Regions from separate parts of the Homo sapiens genome. Here region 2 is linked to region 1. The links are contacts of gene promoters, found by promoter capture Hi-C in blood cells and fetal thymus (Javierre and others, 2016). All regions are on one chromosome and are shown on one strand. The core of a region is centred on a gene start or on the middle of the fragment in contact, and the rest is flanking DNA. Distances in the headings are between cores, read along the strand shown.

Region 1 (6,355 bases), core at 1,854-4,353:
CTCATGCATGCCGGAGTGACACTGGGGCTGAGTTTTGAGGTATTTGTAGGGGTTAGCAAGACAAAGAAGAGGAAATGTATTTGACAGAAGCCTAGAGTAAACAAAAAGAGGACGGCCGGGTGCGGTGGCTCAGGCCTGTAATCCCAGCACTATCTGAGGCAGGCGGATACCTGAGGTCAGGAGTTCAAGACCAGCCTGGCCAACATGGTGAAACCCCATCTCTACTAAAATACAAAAATTAGCTGGGCATGATGGCGGGTGCCTGTAATCCCAGCTACTCGGGAGGCTGAGATGGGAGAATTGCTTGAACCAGGGAGACGGTGGTTGCGGTGAGCTGAGATCACGCCATAGCACTCCAGCCTGGGCGGCTGAGCGAGACTCCGTCTCAAAAAAAAAAAAAAAAAAAAGGGACGGGCCCTGTAACAGGACTTACCTAGGTGTAAACCTTGGCTCTACCACTTTTCATCTAGGGGCCTGGGGCAACTTAACCTCATGACTGTAAAACAGAGGTAATAACACCTACCTCCAATAGGAATATGAAAACAAAGCAATTACCGTGTCTGCCTCACAGTGACAGCTCAAAAGATGTCAGCCATTATTATTTTCACTGTTAATATTACAAAGTCTCAGGAACAGCAGGACTTTTTCAGAGAACGATAAGCTGACCCAGAGAAGGAGAGTCACCGGAGATGAGACTAGCTCAGAAGGCAGAGGCCAAACTGCAAAGTGTTTTATGTCTTTAGAGTTTGGATTTTACCGAAAGCCACAGGCAACCACTAGGCAACTCCAAGTAATGGCAGAGTTATCTGCTCATATTCACTCTTAGAAAGGCTGACAACAGGTCAGATTCCAAAGTATGTGTATATGTGTTCTTTCGGTTTTTAAATTTAACTTTTATTTTAAGTTCAGGGGTACATGTGCAGATTTGTTATGTAGTTAAAACTTGTGTCATGGGGTTTGTTGTACAGATCATTGTCACCCAGGTATTAAGCCTAGTACCCATTAGTTATTTTTCCAGATCTTCTCCTTCTTCCTGCCCTCCACCCTCCGATAGGCCCCAGTGTGTGTAAAATACATGCTCTTTCCATCACCCAGGGTGCCTCAGCAAGAAGCCTACGGCCGCCCCAGCTTTCCCTTGGCTGGGGGTGGGCAGTAACAGGCGAGGAACGTACTTACCACCTGTGGCGAGGAAACACACCTTCCCCAAGAAGAAGCTGGCATCCACATGGCGCAGGGACTCCTCTGTGTTCTGGAGACTGGGGTGGCCAGGCCAGGGTGAGAAAACAAACCAGAGAACAAAACTTTACAACGGAGAAAGCAGAAGTCCTTGCTTCTCTGATCCTAGAGGCCAGAGAATGACAAGAGGGTGACTTTCTCTGGAGAAATATTTGTCCTTTAATTTTTTTTTTTTTTTTTTTTTTAGATGGAGTTTCACTTTGTTGCCCAGGCTGGAGTGCAGTAGCGCGATCTTGGCTCACTGCAACCTCTGCCTCCTGGGTTCAAATGATTCTCCTGCCTCAGCCTCCCGAGTAGCTGGGACTACAGGTACATGCCACCACGCCTGGCTAATTTTTGTATTTTAGTAGAGACGGGGTTTCACCATGTTGCCCAGGCTGGTCTCGGGCAATCTGCCCACCTTGGCCTCCCAAAGTGCTGGGATTACAGGTGTGAGCCATTGTGCCCGGCCGTTGTGTATTTTAAACATTGTGCACTGACCACTGGCTCCTCTCTCCTCACCTTACAGATTGACCTCAGCCAGCCTCTCCCATCCTCACCACTTCCCATCACAAGTTAGGTCACCGTCTCAGCACAGTCCTGAGCCAGGCCTGCCTGAGCCCTGACTGCCCCTTCCTCTGGCTCTCACCTGTATTTGCTGTGAAGATTAACCACAAACACGATCAGGTCAATTCGGGGCCGATTCACACTGGAGGGCAAAGGGAGGGACTTTGCCAAGTGGCTGAAAAACAGGAAATTGCAGGACTCAAGATATCCGTACCCCCCTCATAGCGACCGTTTAAATGCTGCCCTTCATGTGGAAAGAGGCCGTCAAGGGCTCCCCACCTCATCCTAGCCACCCGAGGCTCTTGTGGCCACGACTCCTTGGGCCAGCACAGAGGCAGGACAGGTCCGGTCCTATTCAGATTACTCCTGTCTGATTCCCTCTGCCAGAAACGGGCTCTGTTTAGTCACCACCTCGGCAAGGGGAGGTTGGGATATAAGACGGCATGGGACTAGCCAGCTACGCTGCATGCTGGGAGAAGGACCAGCCTCAGAGGAGGGGGCGCTGGGCTTCGGAGTTTAGCAGCTAGGACCGAATCCCTCTGGAGTGAGAGACACGTGGGCCCAGGCCACAGCCGCGGCTACTTACACCTTCAGCTCGGAGGCGCAGTCCTCTTTGAGCATCGAGTCCGCCAGCTGCTGCAGAAGAGCATCCTCCGTGCCCACCAGCTGCGCAGGGAGAGAGAGCGGACAGTCGAGCCCTAGGCACAGCACCCCCTGGGGAGGGCCTGGCCCTTCGACCCACTCCCGGGGGGATCGGGACACCGCCAGCAGGCGGCTCGGAGGACATTTCCCGAGAAGTGGACCCCGCGAAGCGGCACGGGCTGGGGGCCTGAGGTTTGGACCCGCTGCAGGCCTGTGGGCACCGCACTCTCTACTACCCGACCCTCGCTCCCACCGCCGGCCTCTCCAGGAGGCCAGACCCCCAGACGCGGGAAAACCAATTCCAGGCGCGGGAACTCGCCAATCAGAAGCTGGGAAAGGGTCCGCCGAGCACCTATTGGTGGGTGCGTCCCTCAACCTCAGAGAGCGGCTACTCCAATTGGTTCAGAGCATGGCTCTCCGCCTATTCCCCGCCCCCGCCACGGTAGCGCGCGCTGGCTTGGCGCCTCAGAGAGCTCAGTTGACCTAGTGGCTGAAGCACCGCCCAGGAGGAAAAACCGGCGGGGGAAGCAGGGCCGCCTGCACCTACCAAGATGGTGGCCGTGTTCAGGCCGGGCAGCTTGTCCAGGGGCCTCAACACCGACATCACAGCCGCAGGACCAACCGTTGCTCCTGCGGTGCGCGCCGATCTTTCAAACCGCCCTGAGTCCAGCCCCTAGAGCGCGGCCTGGGGGCACGTGCCTCCTTATAGGCGGGGCTTCGCGGGACGGGACGGGGCCTCTTAAAGGAACCGAACCTTTATCTCCTTTTCTGAGGGGCGTTCCAGCGCTACCCGTGGAACACGTGGTGGACAGGCCTTTGGTTCCACGCTCCACAGTAAGCAGGTTTTTAGTGATTCCTTTGTTCACTTTCATTCATTCATGCTCATACACAGTACTTTTTTTTTTTTTTTTTGAGACAGAGTCTCGCTTTGTGGCCCAGGCTGGAGTGCAATGCGCGCAATCTCGGCTCACTGCAACTTCTGCCTCCCGAGTTTAAGCGATTCTCCTGCCTCAGCCTCCCAAGGAGCTGGGACTACGGGCGCGCGTCACCACGCCCGACTTATTTTTTTATTTTTAGTAGAGACGGGGTTTCTCCAAGTTGCCCAGGCCGGTCTCAAACTCCTGGCCTCAAGTGATCCCGCCTCGGCCTCCCAAAGTGAGTGCTGAGATTACAGACGTGAGCCACCGTGCCTGGCCCTTTTTTTTTTTTTTTTTTTGGAGCGTCACTTTGTTGCCCAGGCTGGACTATAGTGACACGATCATAGCTCACTACAGCTTCAAACTCCTGGGCTCAAGTCATCTTCCTGGCTTAGCCTCCTGAGTAGCTGGAACTACAGGCAAGTGCCACCATGGGGATCTGGCCATGTTGCCCAGGTGGGTCGTAAACTCCTGGCCTCAAGCAGCCCTCCTGCTTCAGCCTCCTGAGTAGCTGGGACTACCGCTGCACACCAGCAGGCCCTGCCAATTGACTGCTTTTACAGTGAGTGGTAAGCATGCTGTTCTTTGTCCAATGGGAGACTTTACCTCATCTTTCAAGGTTCCTTGCTGCAAACACAGCCTGAGTACAGAGCTGTCAGGGTCTTGCTTTCTTGACATACCCAGCAAGAACATGCAGGGACGCTCAGGGCCCATAGCAAACTGGTTCTGCCAACAGTTATATAATAACTTGTTCACTGTCTCTACATCTAAAATGTAAGAAACAAGAGGTTAGAGACTTTGTCACTTTGTATGTCCAGCACTCTAAAAGTCCCTGGTACATCGTAGTTAATAAATATTTGTTGAGTGAATGGATGGATTACATTCATCCATTCATTCTCAGCAGTCATTCATTCATCATTTCCTATGCCCAGACCCAATGCCCTACCCTAGGAAGTCAGTTGAATCAGACATTATTGATTAACTTAGTTTGATGGGGGTGGGATAGACAATGATAACAGTGTGTTCATTGTTGTAATAACTGGGAGAGCAGAGACACTGTCTAGCCTAAATCCTTCTTACTGCAGACTAAACTAACTGTGTCTTGCTCAGAAAGATCAGGACGTAAATGGCCCCATAGAGCCACTGCCCTCAGCACAGATACGGCTTTCATTCCTCATGGCATGGGGTGTGGAGAGGACTTCCTGAAAGTCAAGCAGTAGTAGGCACTATGACAAGAAAATAAAGTAAGCTGAACGCCGTGGCTCATGCCTATAACCCAGCACTTTGGGAGACCGAGGCGGGTGAATCACTTGAGGCCGGGAGTTTGAGGCCAGCCTAGGCAATATAGTGAGACCTCATCTCTACAAAAAAATTTTTAAATTAGCTGAGCAGGGTGGGCATGGTGGTTCACGCATGTAATCCCAGCATTTTGGGAGGCCGAGGCGGGCGGATCACCTGACATCAGGAGTTTGAGACCAGCCTGACCAGCATGGAGAAACCCTGTCTGTACTACTAAAAATACAAAATTAGCTGGGCGTGGTGGTGCATGCCTGTAATCCCAGCTACTTGGGAGGCTGTGGTAGGAGAATCGCTTGAACTTGGGAGGCAGAGGTTGCAGTGAGCTGAGATTATGCCAGTGTACTCTGGCCTGGGCAACAAGAGCGAAACTCCATCACAAAAACAAAAAACAAACAAACAAATTAGCCAGGTATGGTGGCGGTGGCGGGCGCCTGTAATACCACCTACTCGGGAGGCTGAGGCAGGAGAATCACTTGAACCTGGGAGGCGGAGGTTGCAGTGAGCTGAGATCGCACCACTGCACTCCAGCCTGGGTGACATGTGAGACTCCATCTCAAAAAAAAAAAAATGAAAGATAAACTAAAGCTGTCTGGCAGAAGAGATGGATGGGAGGAGGCTACTTTAGAGCAGGGAGGCCTCCCTAAGGTGACATTTGAGCAGATGCTTGAATTCAGTGAGAGAGGGGCCCCTTAAGTATGATGAAGAAGAGGCCTCAGGCAGAAGGCAGTGCAAGTGGAAAGCCCCTGAGTGGGAAGCACTCCTGGCACTTCCGAGGCGTAGCAAGGAGGCCAGTGGCTGTGGCAGATGGAGTAAGAAGAACAGGGGAGGAGGTGAGGCCACGGAGGTGATTGAGCTCCCAGAGACTGAGGCCCTTAGAGAGTGGTGGGCTGGGAAAAGACTTTGGACTCTGGTGGGGACTTTCCAGGAGGGGCCGGGCTGAGACCCATTGGGTCAGCATGTGCTGAGTGCCTGCCCTGGGGACCCTGGTCCCAGAGGGGCCAAACTGCTTCAGGGAGTTACCACTTGTAACAAGAGACAAGGCACTGCAGTTGGGGAGGCCATCGGGGAGCAGCCAGGAGCAGCAGGAACCCAGGGGAAGCTGCTCTGTGTCCCTGGGGAGCCTGCACTCCACTTCACCGGGGCGGTGATCATTGGCTGAACAGAAAGTAGTTGTGTTTAAGATCCATACATGATGAAGGGTAGGGATGGGGAGGAGGCCAGATAGAGGCCTGGAGGTTCTTACATCCTGAACACCCAAGCTGGCAGGGTCATCAGAGTCCTCTGGGCCAGCATTTTTCAAATCGGCTTCTGTGGAGCCCTGGGGAGATGACTTGGGGTCCTGTGAGAGACGGGGGATTCCGAGTGGGTGGGGTCCAGAACCCCCACCCCCACCCAACCATTGAACCGAAGCAACCTCCACTTTATCTCTGTTATGTATTGAGCTTCCCATAAGCTTTTGTATGAATAAGGAATCAGTGGCTAAAACAATGCCGACAGGCCATGGATCACATACTTTACAGATTTATTGAGGCATAAGGGACACGTATAATCAACTACACTTATTTCAAGGGTACAATTTGATAAGTTTGACATATGTATATACTTAAGAAGCCACCATCACCATTAAGAGCCTGAACATACCTTCACCCCAAAAAGTTTACTCCTGCCCCTTTGTGATTCTTCCCCCAACTCCTCTGCTCTCCCACCCCAAAATG
Region 2 (6,355 bases), core at 2,071-4,570, 520 kb after region 1:
GCACTTTGGGAGGCTGAGGCGGGAGGATCACCTCAGGTCAGGAGTTCAAGACCAGTCTGGCCAACATGGTGAAACCTCGTCTCTACTAAAAATACAAAAAAATTAGCCGGGCGTGGTGGTGCATGCCTGTAATCCCAGCTCCTCTGGAGGCTGAGGCAGGAGAATCGCTTGAACTGGGGAGGCGGAGGTTGTGGTAAGCCAGGACCACACCATTGCACTACACCCTGGGCAACAAGAGCGAAACTCTGTCTCAAAAAACAAAAAAAAAAAAAAAAAGAAAAGAAAAGAAAAAAGGGAGAGGTGAGATTCAAAGAAATCGCATGGACAGTTTTTTGAGAATTGGTAGAAGACCTAACTCGTTGGGCTCAAGAAGCAGAAATGGCTCTGAGCAATAAGTAAGAATAAATTTACACCTCGGCACGCTATAGAGAAACTGTAAGCTACAAAAGACACAAAGACAACCATAGGAACAACTAGAAAAAGAAGGCACCTCACCTACGGGTAACAATTCTGCTGACAGAAGACTTCTCAACAGCAACCAAAATCTCCGAAGGCAGCTAAGCAGTGTTTTCAAAGGAATTGTCAACCTAGAATCCTATGCTTAGCATGATTATTGTTCTAGGATGAGGGCAAAAATATATATATTTTAGAATGAAGACAGAGGCTGTTTGCCACACTCACTGGAAATGCTGTACTAGTAAAAATGCACTTTATGAAAGAGAAAAGTCAACCCAGAGGAAGAAAAGACTTGGAAACAATAATAATGTCTCATTTATTGAGTGGTTGTTGTACACCAGGCACTGTTCTAAGGATTTTCTCTACAAAAAATGTAAAAATTAGCCGAGTGTGGTGGTTTGTACCTTTCCTTATTTATTTAATTCTTTTTCTTTCTTTCTTTTTTTTTTTTTTTTAAAGACAGGGTCTTGCTCTGTCACCCAGGCTGGAGTGCAATAGTGCAATCTCGGCTCACTGCAAACTCTGCCTCCCAGGTTCAAGTGATTCTTCTGCCTCAGCTCCCTGAGTAGCTGGGATTACAGGTGCTCACCACCGCAACCAGCTAATTTTTGTATTTTTAGTAGAGACAGGGTTTCACCATCTTGGCCAGGCTGGTCTTGAACTCTTGACCTCAAGTGATCTGCCCGCCTCGGCCTCCCAAAATGCTGGGATTACAGGTGTGAGCCACCATGCCCGGCCTCTTATTTATTTAATTCTCATGTTAACCCTCAGAACTGGGTGTGATTACTATCATACTCCCTTTACAGATGGGGAAACTGAGTCACAGAGGGGTTAAAACTTGCCCTGGTCACAGGTCAAGGTTTGGCTACAACAGTCCACATTCTTAAACACTATGCTATACCAACTCAAGAAGCGGTAGTGGAGAGCCAGGTGTCGTAGCTCATGCTTGTAATCCCAGCACTTTGGGAGGCTGAGACAGGAGGATTGCTTGAGGCCAGGAGTTCCAAGACTAGCCTGCACAACAGAGTGAGACCCCATCTCTACAAAAAATTTGAAAATTAGCCGAGTGTGGTGGTGTGCACCTGCAGTCCCACCTACTCAGGAGGCTGAGTCAGGAGGCTCCCCTGAGCCTGGGAGGTTGAGGATGCAGTGAGCCATGGTTGTGCCACTGCACTCCAGCCTAGCCAACAGAGTGAGACCCTGTCTCAAAAAATTATGATATTACTCCAGCTCTCTTTTGACAGAAAAAAAAATGTTTAATAGAAGCAATGGTGTGCTTTTCAAGTAAGCAACATTGCCTCAATGAGTAAAACCGTTTCCAAATTCTGACAGATATTAAAGTTTAAGATTCAGGCAGGAATAAGAAATCAGAATTCCCAGGAATTCTTGGGAATTCCCCAAATCATAAGCTATTCCTAAAATGCTTCCAACATGATTCATACTCTTAACCCAATCACCTAAAAATGTATTTGACAAATAAGAAACATTAAGCTTAATACTATTTATAAAGAACTGTAGCCTATAGGGCATATTACAACACGGGAAAAACCAGTGACCATTATTGGGTGATATTCAAATAATGTAATTTTTGGATTTCCTAGCAAGGTTAACAGTACTTCATGTGTCACTGCAAATAACACTTCATGTGTCAACATTGCCGATTTTAAGACTTATTTTGATTCCCAAATTTGTTCTTGGAACACCACTGATATGATAGAGTTTATATAAAGTATGTTATGCATATAGACAAGTTGATAATTATTTTATTTGCAAGAATGACTTGCAGCAGCAGACAGGGCCATCCATGGTCACAACATGGAATAGCTGCGGGCAAGATGCCTTCTTTTTTTTTTTTTTTCTGAGACAGGTTCTCACTCTGTCACCCAGGCTTAAGTGCAATGGCACGATCTTGGCTCACTGCAACTGCCGCCTTCCAGGTTCAAGCACTTCTCCTGCCTTAGCCTCCCAAGTAGCTGGGACTACAGGCACGCGTCACCATACCTGGCTAATTTTTTTGTATTTTTAGTAGAGACGGGGTTTTGCCATGTTGGCTAGGCTGGTCTTGAACTCTTGACCTCAGGTGATCCACCCACCTCGGCCTCCCAAAGTCCTGGGATTACAGGTGTGAGCCACTGGGCCCGGCCACCATGGCTCACACCTGTAATCCCAGCACTTTGGGAAGCCAAGGCAGGCAGATTGCTTGAGCTCTGCAACCTGTGAGTTTGAGACCAACCTCGGCAACATGGTGAGACCCAGTCTCTACAAAAATAAAATAAAATTACCTGGGCATGATGCATGGCTGTAGTCACAGCTACTTGGGAGGCTGAGGCGGGAGGACTGCTTGAGCCTGGGATGTCAAGTCTGCAGCGAGCTGTGATCATGCCATTGCACTCCAGCCTGAGTGATACAGTGAGACTCTGTCTCTAATAATAATAATAATAATAATAATAATAATAAGCTGGCCTGATGCAGTGGCTCACACCTGTAATCCCAGCACTTTAGAAGGTCAAGGCGGGCAGATTACCTGAGGTCAGAAGTTCGAGACCAGCCTGGCCAACATGGTGAAACCCCATCTCTACTAAAAATACAAAAAGTAGCCAGGCATGGTGGCGCACACCTGTAATCCCAGCTACTTGGGAGGCTGAGGTGGGAGAACCACTTGAACCTGGGAGGCGGAGGTTGCAGTGAGCTGAGATCGCGCCATTGCACTCTAGCCTGGGTGACAAGAGCAAAGCTCCATCTCAAATACATATATACATACATACATACATAAAAAGCCACAATAAGATAGTATCAGATTGTCAAAAATATCAGAGCCTAATAATACCAAGTATAGGCAAAGATATGGAGACAAGAAAACCCATATCTGTGCTAGTTGTGTGTGAATAAGGACAAACACTGCAGAGAGCAATTGGACATTTTTTCTATTGAAGATGTACATGTGCTATGACCTAGGAGTTTTATTGCCAGGCAAATATCCTAAGGAAACTTTCGTATATGAACACCATGTTCTATGCGTAAGAATGTTTACAGCAGGCTGGGTGAGGTGGCTCACACCTGTAATCCCAGCACTTTGGGAGGCTGAGGCGGGCAGATCACCTGAGGTAGGGAGTTCGTGACCAGCCTGACCAACGTGGAGAAACCCCATCTCTACTAAAAATACAAAATTAGCAGGGCGCATGTGGAAGATGAGCATGCGGGTGGTGGCACATGCCTATAATCCCAGCTACTAGGGAGGCTGAGGTAAGAGAATCACTTGAACCCAGGAGGCAGAGGTTGCAGTGAGCCAAGATCACGCCATTGCACTCCAGCTTGGGCAACAAAAGCGAAACTCCATCTCAAAAAAAAAAAAAGAAGAAAGAAAAGAAAAGATAGTCTACAGTAGCCTTATGTGCAATAGAGAAAATTTGGAAATAAGCTATGTGTCCTTCAGTAACAGAGGAGATAAATAGATCGTATTTTATTCACATAACAGATTAATGTAAAGCAGTAAAAATAAACTGCAACTACACATATCTACATGAATAAACCTCAAAAACATAAATTGGAGAGGAATACTTCAAAACAACTTTAAAGTTGCAAAAATATAGAACAATACTATGTATTGTTCAGGGGCATAGACATTTGATAAAGTGTGCTATTAAGAATTAGGATTATCATATACAATAATAGGAACAATTCATCAGCAATATATAAGAACTTTCATGTACCCCAAAATACGTCAAGAATTGTCAGAATTACAAGGAGAAATGGACAAATTCCCTGTGCTAGTTTGGATTTCAAGAAATAAACACCAAGATGGCATTAGATACACAAGAGATCTGGCGAAGGATGAAGGGGAGAGAGTGCAGAAGCAGGCTAGGGGCTGGGCATGGTGGTTCATGCCTGTAATCCCAGCACTTTGGGAGGCCAAGGCAGGAGGATTGCTTGAGGTCAGGGGGTTGAGACCAGCCTGGGCAACATAGGGAGACCCCCATCTCTACGAAAAATAAAATAATTAGGCACTAAGGCACATGCCTGTGGTCCCAGCCACTTCGGAGGCTGAGGCAGGAGGATTGCATTGGGCCCTGGAAGTTGAGGCTGCAGTGAGCAGTGATCATGCCATTGCCCTCCAGGCTGGGAGACAGAGTGAGACTGAAGCAAAGAAGTAGCAGGAGAGCCTTCAGGCCACAGAGGCAGGTCTGACGTATAAAGGAGGGAGGGAAGAAGGAAGCCTCAGGCTGCAGCAGGACTCTGAGCAAGCTTGGCCAGGCAGATGATGAGTCTCCAAGCAATGACTGTTAGAGGAGTCTTGCACCAGGCAGATGTGGTGGGGCTCCAGCACCCCCTTGGTGATTAGTCATTGCCTGGGAGCAACTGGGGTCAGGTCCCTTTGAAGGGGAATCTGAGCGGTGTAAGTCCATGGCCACCACATGTAATATTACAGTAGAAAGTCATAATCTGCATCCTATCCATCTCTCAGGAATTGACAGACCAAGCAGGCAAAAATGGAGATATTCTCCTAAAGATGAATGGGCAATAAGAGACTCCTATACCCAAGAATTAGAGACTATATCTTTCCAAGCACACATAGTACTTTTACAAAAATTGTACATGTTGTCTTTGAAGAAATAATTTTAAGACTGAAATGAAAAAAAAAGTTTTTTTAGACTGCATGTGTAGCAGGTCGCAGTGTCATGCTCAACACGTACAATAAATTGGTATTTGGCTACAATGCAATCAGGTTAGAAAGACATTATAAAATGATTTTCTAAACCCGTATGTTTTAAAATTTAAATTCATGGATTGCCTAACATAAAAGTTAAAGAAGATATCATAAGGGAAATCAGAAAATATTTAGAACTGAAAGATAATTAAGTCACTGTGTGATAAATCTCGAAGAATATCACTAAAGGAGTATGCAGAGGGAAATTTACAGCCTTAACTGCGCACATTAGAAAAGAAGAAGATTCAGCCAGGCCTGGTGGCTTATGCCTGTGATCCCAACACTTTAGGAGGCCAAGATAGGTAGACTGCTTGAGCTTGGGAGTTCAAGGCCAGACTGAGCAACATGGTGAAACCCCATCTTTACAAAAATTAGCCGGGCGTGGTGGTGGACACCTGTAGTCCCAGCGACTTGGGAGGCTGAGACAGGAAGATCATTTGAGCCCAGGAGGTTGAGGCTGCAGTGCGCTGTGTTTGTGCCACTGCACTCTAGCCTGGGCGGCATGACAGAGTGAGACCCTGTCTCAAAAAAAAAAAAAAAAAAAAAGGCTGGGCGCAGTGGCTCACACCTGTAATCCCAGCAATTGGGGAGGCCAAAGTGGGTGGATCACTTGAGGTCAGGAGTTCAAGACCAGCCTGGCCAACCTGGTGAAACCCCGTCTCTACTAAAAATACAAAAATTAGCCAGGTGTGGTGGCACTTGCCTGTAATCCCAGCTACTCGGGAGGCTGAGGCAGGAGAATGGCTTGAACCTGGGAGGCGGAGGTTGCAGTGAGCTGAGATCACGCCACTGCACTCCAGCCTGGGTGACAGAATGAAACTGTATCTCAAAAAAAAAAAAAAAAGAATAAGAAGATTCCCAATTCATGAGCTAAGTGTCCAACTCTAAAAGTAAGAAAAAGAGTAGAATAAAACAACAAAAACAAAAGTAGAAGGAATGAAACAAGAAAATCATAAAGATAAAAACAGAAATTAATCAAAGAAAAAAATGAATAGAGGATACACAAAACTGCAGCTGGATCTTTAAGACTCATGAAAAAGGCAGACCTCTGGCAACAGCAGCAGAGCAAATGCAAGAGAAAGCACAGGCTTGTTAGGAATTAACCCAAGGAACTGAACACAGCTAAAGTAGAGAGCCAGAAATAACGATAGCTCACATTTATGAGTCAGTTTCATGCCTCATTCTATAATGCAA

The links. Contacts are between HindIII fragments. The CHiCAGO score rates a contact against its expected background, and 5 or more counts as called.
Region 2: a contact is called between a fragment that was not itself captured here and the fragment with the promoter of CENPM in region 1, in 1 of 17 cell types (neutrophils). The highest score is 5.1, in neutrophils.

Annotation. Positions count from the first base shown.
Region 1 is chr22:41,944,049-41,950,403 of GRCh38, forward strand. CENPM (centromere protein M) reads right to left here and starts at 3,104. Exons shown (of 6, transcript NM_024053.5): 1 at 2,972-3,104; 2 at 2,369-2,448; 3 at 1,865-1,957; 4 at 1,177-1,256. The coding sequence starts at 3,028. It also overlaps a transcript of SMIM45 not described here. RefSeq lists an enhancer at 2,908-3,117. The HindIII fragment of the contact is 15,549 bases long and covers 1-6,091 here.
Region 2 is chr22:42,464,323-42,470,677 of GRCh38, forward strand. No RefSeq gene overlaps it. Among named protein-coding and RNA genes, the nearest start is that of NFAM1, 35 kb to the left of the region's middle. The HindIII fragment of the contact is 2,751 bases long and covers 1,946-4,696 here.